Linked DNA regions of Homo sapiens: region 2 is linked to region 1. Evidence: promoter capture Hi-C in human tissues and cell types (Jung and others, 2019). All regions are on one chromosome and are shown on one strand. Each heading gives the region's core, a stretch centred on a gene start or on the middle of the fragment in contact. The rest is flanking DNA. Distances are from core to core; before and after follow the strand shown.

Region 1 (5,215 bases), core at 1,975-4,474:
CATGAATATACAAGGAATTATAACATAATACAATATGCTCTTGATATAAGCAAAATACTTAACCAAATACAAAGTAATGATTAATTCTGAATGATGCTATATAAGACTTTACAGAAAAGGTAATATATTTGATGAAACAGTGAAAGGAGGTTGGAAAGATGAGTTCTAGCTGCGAGGAAAAGAAAGTGAAGAAGCAGAGAGAAATCCAGAGAAGCCTGAAAGCTTAGGGTGTTTTAGAGGAAGCGAAGACATTACAACTAAGAAAGAAATGAGTTGTGAAGAGTGGTGGGCAATGATCTCGGTTTGTATTTTTTTAGAACATTAATTTTACTATAAATACTAGAAATCAAAATGCCCAGAAGATAAACATAAGACCTACCACATCCTTGCATTTTCAAAGTCTAGCAAATTATATGACAAGTTTTGTAATATGAAGAAGAAATATTTTTGACAAATTAACATAATATTTCAATGTGTATTGTGTTTAATGGCATTTCTGCATTACATTTCATGTATTACATTTGTTTTATATCTATGCATTTTATTACTTAGGGGATAAACATTTATATGAAGAGCATCAATTTTCCTAAAACGCTAGTAGCAGCAGTCAACATTTAATACTACTCTAAACAATCATTTTCATAACCTCTCTTTAGGGTACTATATTTTAGGAAGAGAAAAATTTGGGGGAAAATAAAATTAAAGATGGGTGTGTTGAAGTGAAAACTAGTGAGAAATTACCTGGTGAATATCAATCACCTTCTAATAGCAAAGTTTAAGTGCAACTAGATCTTAAGCATCCCTTTTATTTACAGGGAAATAATATAATGTAATATAGCTTTTAAGAAGCTATATGAGAGCAGGGAGCTTACTAGTAAACTACAAGTTTGACACTCCCATATAATACAAGAATTTTCACCTCACTACCCATATATTATAGCAACAATATAATATCTGTAAACATCCTTTGTAAGCTGTAAAGGTCTTTTCATATTCAATAACAATAATACTTGCTTACTGAATAATTAAGATAATTAATTTTGAATAATTAAACAGGAATTATCCAATAAAAACTACTAAAGGGCATTCCAAGTGCTTATCCTGTGTCAAGCACTGTGATAAATGCTCTGTATGCATTCTCTTATTTAATTCTTTCAACCACCCATGGGAGGTAAATAGTTTTCTCAATTCACAACTAAGGCAACTAACCTAGAAAGATAATCTGAGCTGACCAAGGAGATAAGGGAAAGTAATATAGACACAGTAATATACAGATAACATAAAGAAGACCTAAACAGAAGCAGTGCTAATATCAAAGACAGATAATAACCATAAGAATCAAACAACCATAACAAAAACAAATAGCTCAATATATGAATGGACAAAGATTTGAATATACACTTCACCAAGAATATGTGGTTGACAGAAGGCAGGTGCAAACATACTTCAATGCAAATTAAAAACACATTGAAACACCAGCACACAGTCATTAGAAATTTTTAAATTTTAATTAAAATTAAATGACTGACAATACCATGTGTAAGCATAAAATGTGAAGGAACTTGAACTCTTAACACTCTGCTGATGGGAATGTAAAATGCCATAATCACCTTGGAAAACAGTTTGGAAATTTCTTTAAAAAGTAAACATATACCTATCATGTAATCCGGCTTTTCCTACAAGGTATTTTATCAAGAGAAATGAGAGCATCTGACCACAGAAAGACTTGTACAGGAATGTCTATAACGACTTCATTTTAATAGCCAAAAACTATAACAACAAAAATGTCCATCATCAGATGAAAGGATAAACGAATTGTGGTATATCCATACAATGGAATACTACTCAGCAATAAAAGGAACTACTGAAACAAGATACAGTGTGGATGGAACCTAAAATAATTACACTGACTAAAAGAAAGCAAGTAAAAAGGAGCACATACTGTTGACTCTATTCACATGAACTATCCGCAACTGCAGTTTATTGTATGTCAATTATATATCTCTATATAAAGCTGTTTTATATGTCTGTATTCGCTTTTGTGGGTCTGTAATACACGTTTTTCATTTTTTTAAACCTCTGAGCATTACCATCAACATTTTAACAATAGTAATCTCGGCAGAAGACGAATTAGGGTTGTTTTGAACTTTCTTCTGCGTGCTTACCCTTTTTTCTTCAGTACCCTGCAACAATTACATAAATACTATTTTAACACTAAATGCTATTTAAAGTTTAATTTTTAAAGAGCTATTTTAAGAGGATATAATCTCTGCACTAAGAAAAGATGGGAAAGTAACATATTTTGAGTTCAGAGGCATTTTATTCCTCCTAGGGTTTCTACGGTATCTCATTTCTCATTCTTTCTTTCTTTTTTCTTTTTTTTTTTTTTTTTGAGACGGAGTCTTGCTCTGTCGCCCAGGCTGGAGTGCAGTGGCTCGATCTCGGCTCACTGCAAGCTCCGCCCCCCGGGTTCACGCCATTCTCCTGCCTCAGCCTTCCAAGTAGCTGGGACTACAGCAGCCTGCCACCACGCCCGGCTAATTTTTTGTGTTTTTAGTAGAGACGGGGTTTCACCGTGTTAGCCAGGATAGTCTCGATCTCCTAACCTTGTGATCCGCCCGCCTCGGCCTCCCAAAGGCGTGAGCCACGGCACCCGGCCTACAGTATCTCATTTCTTTACAATGAAGATACATTTTATGTTTAAAAATAAACTATGCATGTATTTTAAAAGAAACAGAGTCTTAAAAATTTTCCCACTATGCTGGCAATTGTTTCCACACTTACATGTTAAATAACCAGTTAATTTATGTACACTTGCTTTGGATGTGGACCTTTATTCTCACAGGTAAATTGGTGACTTTTGGTTCACCCTTTTCACTGTGTTGCCAGTCCAACTCTTGGTCCTTATGAAAAGGTCAGAGAAGAAGGGGGAGTACAGCTTGGTCCCTTCTTTGGGAAGTCCCAGGGCCTACTCTCCTGACAGCCTTTTTAACGCAGGTGAAATCAGTGACAATCGCCAAAGAGCAGAAATCTCACGTCGTCGGTGGGGGCGAATGCTCACGGAATCGTGACTGGGCATCTGCGCTGGCCTCCGCCTAGACTGCGCCCCACGCGGGTCCCCAGAGCCCCCGGCGGCGCTTCCCCAGCGCCCTCCGCGTGGAACCCCGCGCCTCTGGAACAGAAGGGGCGTGTGACGCAGTCACCGTTGCCTAGGGCCACGTTCTGATCAGATCTGACGCCTCCAGCGCCCGACCCCACGCCAAGAGGGCCGGGCCTCAGTTTCCCCACTTCCAAGGAGGCGGCGCTATGCTGTCCTGCTTCAGGCTCCTCTCCAGGCACATCAGCCCTTCGCTGGCGTCTCTGCGCCCGGTGCGCTGCTGCTTCGCGCTCCCGCTGCGTTGGGCCCCGGGGCGCCCCTTGGACCCCAGGCAGATCGCCCCCCGCCGCCCCCTGGCCGCAGCCGCCTCCTCCCGGGACCCTACCGGGCCCGCCGCCGGCCCCTCTCGGGTGCGCCAGAACTTCCACCCCGACTCCGAGGCTGCCATCAACCGCCAGATCAACCTCGAGCTCTATGCGTCCTACGTGTACTTGTCCATGGCCTATTACTTCTCCCGGGATGACGTGGCCTTGAACAACTTCTCCAGGTATTTCCTTCACCAGTCCCGGGAGGAGACCGAGCACGCGGAGAAGCTGATGAGGCTGCAGAACCAGCGAGGAGGCCGGATCCGCCTGCAGGACATCAAGAAGCCGGAACAGGACGACTGGGAAAGCGGGCTGCATGCCATGGAGTGTGCTCTACTCTTGGAAAAGAACGTGAACCAGTCGTTGCTGGAATTGCACGCTCTAGCCTCAGATAAAGGTGACCCCCATTTGTGCGATTTCCTGGAAACCTACTACCTGAATGAGCAGGTGAAGTCTATCAAAGAACTAGGTGACCACGTGCACAACTTAGTGAAGATGGGGGCCCCGGATGCTGGCCTGGCGGAGTACCTTTTTGACACACATACCCTTGGAAATGAAAACAAGCAGAACTAAGCCACGAGCTGCCTTCCTCCCAGGCTAGTGGATCCAAAGACCAAAGTCAGCTGTCTCCTGCTTTCTTGCCCTTAAAATCACCTCCATCTTTATATTCTTCTGTTATACTATTCCTCCAATAAAGTGATTTGTAGAAAAAAATGTTTTGCCCATGTTTAACAAGGGCTTTTTACTAACCATCAAGGCAGTTATTTTCCCAGGCTCGAAGATAGCACAGGTAACTATGGTATAGAAAAAGACTCCAAAAAGCTACTGAAAGAGGGTGCAAACTAACGTTCTCCAGTTGCCAAGTATTATCAGAATATGAACCTACACTTAAATTCTGTGATTTTTAATTCAACAAGTGCCTGCCATATTCAATACCTTATGCAAAACGCTAAAGTGGGAAAATGGATAAAAATATACAAATAACTATAAGTGAAGAATATTTAGTACTGTGAAAATTATACATGCAAAAATGCTATGACAGCTTTTGCCTTTTCCCAGTGTGTCCCAAGAAGCAGTACTGTCTGGAGATCGTTTTTTAAAAGAATTCGTAGTCAAATTTGGGATAAGCTACATGAATTATCAGTGTTAGTCTTGGAAAATCACAGCATATATTAACATTTTAAGGGCTCTGGGAAGTTTTGCAGTTAATAAATATAAAAGCTTTAATTATTTTTGTTTAGCTCAGTGTTTTCCAAACATATGCAATCTCAGTGTTTTGTTGTTTTAATGTTGGTAATATAACAAACCAGACCTGATTCCACACTCTATATACTTCACCATTGAGTCTCTCTTTTAACCTGCCAAGAAGAGTGAAAACACTGCATAAAACACCTTTCTGTGGTCTTTAAAATGGACAGAAAAGAACATGGGGGTTTAAAAAGTCAAGAAGGGATCCAGAATAGAGGAGGCATCTAGTCAGGTAGATGTTTTCTTTAGGCATGGAAGTGAGGAGTGGGAGAGTCCAGCATTGGAATAGACTAGAACACTGAGTGGTGATTGGAAAGATGAGCTGCGGCAGAGTACAGAGGTGAGAAGGGTTTGGGCTTAATTCAGGGGACAAAAGCAAGGTCTTCAAAGGCTCTTAACAGAAGAAAACAGTGCTCAAAATGGAGCAATCTGAGGCTTAGTCTGGTTATACAGAATAAGAATCTGAAAACAACCTAAATATCTCTGTTAGTTTGGGTTTTCTGAA
Region 2 (5,215 bases), core at 1,219-3,718, 40 kb after region 1:
AGACCTCAGCTCATTGCATAACTTAAAACCAAACTGCAATACATCTAATTAATATCATTTAAATATAATATAGCTTAAGATAATTACCATTTGAACATAATTTCTATCAAAAATATCCATAAAGTTGATTTGTATTTTTATAGTTGATTAAAAAGTGAAAGATACATTTTTTTTTCCGAGACAGAGTCTCGCTCTGTCGCCCAGGCTGGAGTGCAGTGGTGCTATCTCGCTCACTGCAAGTTCTGGCTCCAGGGTTCAAGCCATTCTCCTGCCTCAGCCTCCCGAGCAGCTGGGACTACAGGCGCCCGCCCCCATGCCCGGCTAATTTTTTGTATTTTTTAGTAGAGATGGGGTTTCACCGTGTTAGCCAGGATGGTCTGGATCTCCTGACCTCGTGATCCGCCTGCCGCGGCTTCCCAAAGTGCTGGGATTATAGGCGTTAGCCACCGCGACCTGCAAAAAGATACATTTTTTAAGCGTGCAATTGATTCAGGATTTTTCTTGGCCCCTTTGCCAGACTTCCATCAAGGGTACCCTGTCTACTCGGCCTGCCATGCTTAGCCTCTTGTGGGAAGGAGCACAGGAACAAGTGAGTGCGGGATCTGGCTGGCCACTCCATCGACATAGCAGCAAGGTCTGTGCGGGGCCTGCAGCCAGACCAAGCTGCGTGTCACCTAAAGAGGAACACAGTCGCACCCAGGCAAGGGTGCCTATGACCTGGAAGCCCCAGAGGGGATGTTAGTGCGCTAATTAGCTCTTTTAGCTCCACTGTCCACAGCCCGATGGATGGTAGCATGTTAGCAGCTCAGTCTCCCACTGGTCCCATCATGTGGAGCAGCTGCCCTCCTCTGGTGAGAGCAAAGAACCAGTGTGACAGCCTTTCTGGGTACCCACACTCAGTGAGTCTCAAGCTTTTGTCCAGCATCCAAGAAGAATGAGGTCACACTTGACGCCTGAGGATGGTGAGGGTGGAGAATTTTATTGAGCAACGAAAACAGCTCTCAGTAGAGAGGGGACCTGGGGAGGGGATGGGAAGGGCAGGTCGTCTTTCCCCGAAGTCAGGAGATCTCGTCCCCAAAGTCAGCACATCTCCTCCCCAAAGTCAGGCCACTTCCCTTCTACCAACTGAGTCTGGGGTCTTTACAGGCACAGGATGGGTACAGGGTGGGCTGTAAGTAGTATTGAAAAGGCAGCATTCGATTGGTTAAAAGGCATTATTCAGAAAATCAATTGAGTGAGAGTGGGCAAACATAAATAGAAGTTCTCACTCTGGTCTGTGGGACTGTTTGTGGATTGAAGGTGGGGTTTCAATGGGGACCCACGCTGGTCTGCCTGGGATTTTTCTGCCTCCTGCCTCTGTTACAATCACTGGAATAAAACATCTCCTGGACCAAATACACAAGATTGAGAAAGTTTAAATTTAATAATAATCATGTAAAATGCCCCACAGTGAAAAAACTGCTTATAATACATGTCGAGATAAATAAATGTTTAACCTTTTGACTAAATTTAAAGTGTAGCAATAAAAATGGCTTAGTAGGCTGCAAAACAGACAAGAAAAGGAACTCAGCCCCTGCTGTTTGAGTCAAGTTTTTCTCCAGAAACTTCATTAACAGAAGAAGCGGTGCTGATGCTCAGCACTATTTCATGCTTTGGCTGTGTCCACCCACAGAGGCATGAGTAGATTTTTATTAGACATAAATTAGATAAACTGAAAATATTTTGGGCTGTCTGTCAAAGAAAAGTGTCAAAAATCATTACATTACAAGAAGAAGTGTTATTTGAGTAGATGCCATAAAAATGACTGTAACTTTCAAATCAGCATTAAAGCCTACACATGATAACAAGATTTTACTCTTACAGTTGCCAATATTTGCCTTAATAAGTGAATAATATCAATTGAACAATCGGGAAGGGTAACAAATAGGTAAAAGAATCTAAAAATAGTTATGTTAGTTCAAATTCAGAGACAGTGTTTAGATAAATGGCCAATGTTTAACATGCTACTCCCCATTAATTAAGACTTGGTAGATTGTTGAAGATGTTAATGAAACCTGGGAAATCATCAACAGTAACCTACTTTTCAAGTTGAATATGCTCAAAACCTGAAAGACAATGGAAAAAAAGAATAAATTACTGAACCAATGATGTAAGAAATTGGGTAATATGTCTCACATGTTGTAACGACACCCAAAAGCTCAAAGTAAATTGATGGAGTAAGATTTAGCATGCAAACAGGAAAAAAAAATGGGATTCACTATTCTTATATCAGATAAAATGATTTTAAATAAATAAAAATTAAGAACAAAGAAAGACATCACATAATACTAGAGGGTACAATCCAACAAGAAGACTTAACTATCATATATATATACATATATATATATATATATATATATATATATATATATATATATATATACCCTCAACATTGGAGCAGCCAATTTATAAAACAAGTTTTTCTTGGCCTCCAAAAAGACTTAGACAATGACCCAATCATAGTGGAAGACTTTAAAACACCACTGACAGCATTAGACAGATCATTGAGGCAGAAAAGTAACAAAGAAATTCTGCACTTAAACTTGACATGTGGCTAAATTGAACTAATAAACATCTACAGAACACTCCACTCAGCAACCACAGAAATCAATACCAAGTATATTTCTCAAAACTACAGAAATTCATGGAAATTAATCAACTTACTCCTGAATAACTTATAGGAGAACATCAAATTTAAGGCAGAAATCAAGAAAACGTTCTTTGAAATCAATAAAATTACGGACACAATGTACCAGAACCTCTGGGAGGCAGCTAAAGCAATGTTAAGAGGATATGTATAGCACTAAATGCCTTCATCAAAAAGTTAGATCTCAATTTAACATGCTAACTTCGCACCTAAAGGAATTAGGGGGAAAAAACTCAACCCCAAAGCTAGCAGAAGAGAAAAAAAATAACTAAAACCAGAGAAGAACTGAATGAAATTGAGATGCAAAAATCTATACGAAAAATCAGTGAAACCAAGAGTTGGTTCTCTGAAAAAATAAACAAGAGTGATATATTGCTAGCTAGATTAACAAAAAAAGAGAGAACATACAAATAAGTACACTCAGAAAGACAAATATGACATTACAACTGATTCTACTGAAAAACAAAAGATTCTCAAAAAATGCTATGAACACGAATTACAAAATCTAAAAGAAATGGATGCATTTCTAGAAATGCAATCTCCCAGGGTTGAGTCAGGAAGAGATTGAAACCCTAAAATAGACCAATATCAGGCTCTGAAATTGAATCAGTAATAAAAATTCTACTGACCAAAAAAGCCCTAGACCAGATGGAATCACAGACAAATTCCACCAGATGTACAAAGAAGAACTCATACAAATCCTACAAAACTATTTGAAAAAATTGAGAAGTTCCTCCTCCCTAACTCATTTTATGATCGCAGCATCAGCCTAATACCAACATTGGGCAGAGACACAACGAAAAAAGAAACTTCAGGGTGATATACATGATGAACATAGATGCAAAAATCCTGAACAAAATACCAAAAAATGGAATCCAGAAGTACATGAATAGGTTAATACACCACAATAAAGTAGGCTTTATTCATGGGATGCAAGACTGGTTCATTAGACACAAATCAACAAATGTGATTTACAACATAAACACAATTAAAAACAAAACCATAAGGCCATTTCAACAGATTCAGAAAAAGCTTTCAATAAAATCCGACATCTCTTCATGACAACAATCTTCAACAAACTAGGCATCAAAGAACATACTGCAAAATAATAAGGGCCATCTATGATAAACCCACAGCCAGTATCATACTGAACTGGCAAAAGCTGGAACCACTCCCCTTGAGAAATAGAACAAGAGAAGGATGCCTCTCTCATCACTAATACTCAGTATAGTACTGGAAGTCCTAGCCAGAGCAGTCAGGCAAGAAAAAGAAATAAAAGGCATCCAAATTGGAAAAGAAGAATTCAAACTCTCTTTGCTGATAATATAATTCTATGCTGAGAGAATCCTAAAGACTCCACTAAAAGGCTTCTAGAACTGATAAACAATTTTAGTAAAGATTCAGGATACAAAATAGATGTTCAAAAATTAGTAGAATTAGGAAAAAACAGATGCTGGAGAGGTTATGGAAAAATAGGAATGCTTCTACACTGTTGGTGGGAGTGTAAATTAGTTCAACCATTGTGTAAGACAGTGTGGCAATTCCTCAAGGATCTAGAACCAGAAATACCATTTGACAGCAATCCCACTACTGGGCATATACCCAAGGGATTATAAATCATTCTATGATAAAGATACATGCACACATGTGTTTATTGTGGCACTATTCACAATAGCAAAGACTTGGAACCAACCCAAATGTCCATCAATGATAGACTGGATTAAAAAAATGTGGCACATGTACACCATAGAATACTATGCAGCCATAAAGAAGGATGAGTTCATGTCCTTTGCAGGGACATGGGTGAAGATGGAAACCATCAGTCTCAGCAAACTATCACAAGATCAGAAAACCAAACACCGCATGTTCTCACTCATAAGTGGGAGCTGAACAATGAGAACACATGGACACAGGGAGGGGAACATCATACACTGGGGCCTTTGTGGGGTGGGGGGCTAGGGGAGGGATAACATTGGGAGAAATACCTAACGTAGATGATAGGTTGAGGGTGCAGCAAACCACCACGGCACATGTATGTATACCTATGTAACAAAACTGCACATTCTGCACATGTACCCCAGAACTTAAAGTATAATTTAAAAAAAAAGAAAGAAAGAAAGTTTGCGGCCCTTAGATCCTTTCAAGAGCATTTCATGGGCTATAAAAAAATTTGACAATGGTTGATCTACCTCCTCACCCCAAAAAAAAGGTTAGGAAACTACAGATACTGGAGAGGATGTGGAGACATAGGAACACTTTTACACTGTTGGTGGGATTGTACACTAATTCAACCACTGTGGAAGACATTGTGGCAATTCCTCAAGGATCTAGAACCAGAAATAACATTTGACCCAGCAATCCCATTACTGGGTATATACCCAAAGAATTATAAATCATTCTACTATAAAGACACATGCACGTGTATGTTTATTGCAGCACTTTTCACAATAGCAAAGACTCAGAACCAACCCAAATGACCACCAATGATAGGCTGGATAAAGAAAATGTGGCACATATACACCATGGAAT

The links. The method cuts DNA at HindIII sites, captures the fragments that hold promoters and counts their contacts. A contact is called where the count stands out against the background at its distance.
Region 2: a contact is called between a fragment that was not itself captured here and the fragment with the promoter of FTMT in region 1, in 1 of the 25 tissues and cell types used here (adrenal gland).

What each region holds. Positions count from the first base shown.
Region 1 is chr5:121,848,658-121,853,872 of GRCh38, forward strand. It overlaps FTMT (ferritin mitochondrial), which reads left to right and starts at 3,225. Exons shown (of 1, transcript NM_177478.2): 1 at 3,225-4,176. The coding sequence starts at 3,307. The coding sequence ends at 4,035. The region is part of intron 3 of LOC105379149 (a long non-coding RNA gene); the gene reads left to right. The HindIII fragment of the contact is 10,616 bases long and covers 1-5,215 here.
Region 2 is chr5:121,889,833-121,895,047 of GRCh38, forward strand. No RefSeq gene overlaps it. Among named protein-coding and RNA genes, the nearest start is that of FTMT, 41 kb to the left of the region's middle. The HindIII fragment of the contact is 5,740 bases long and covers 1-5,215 here.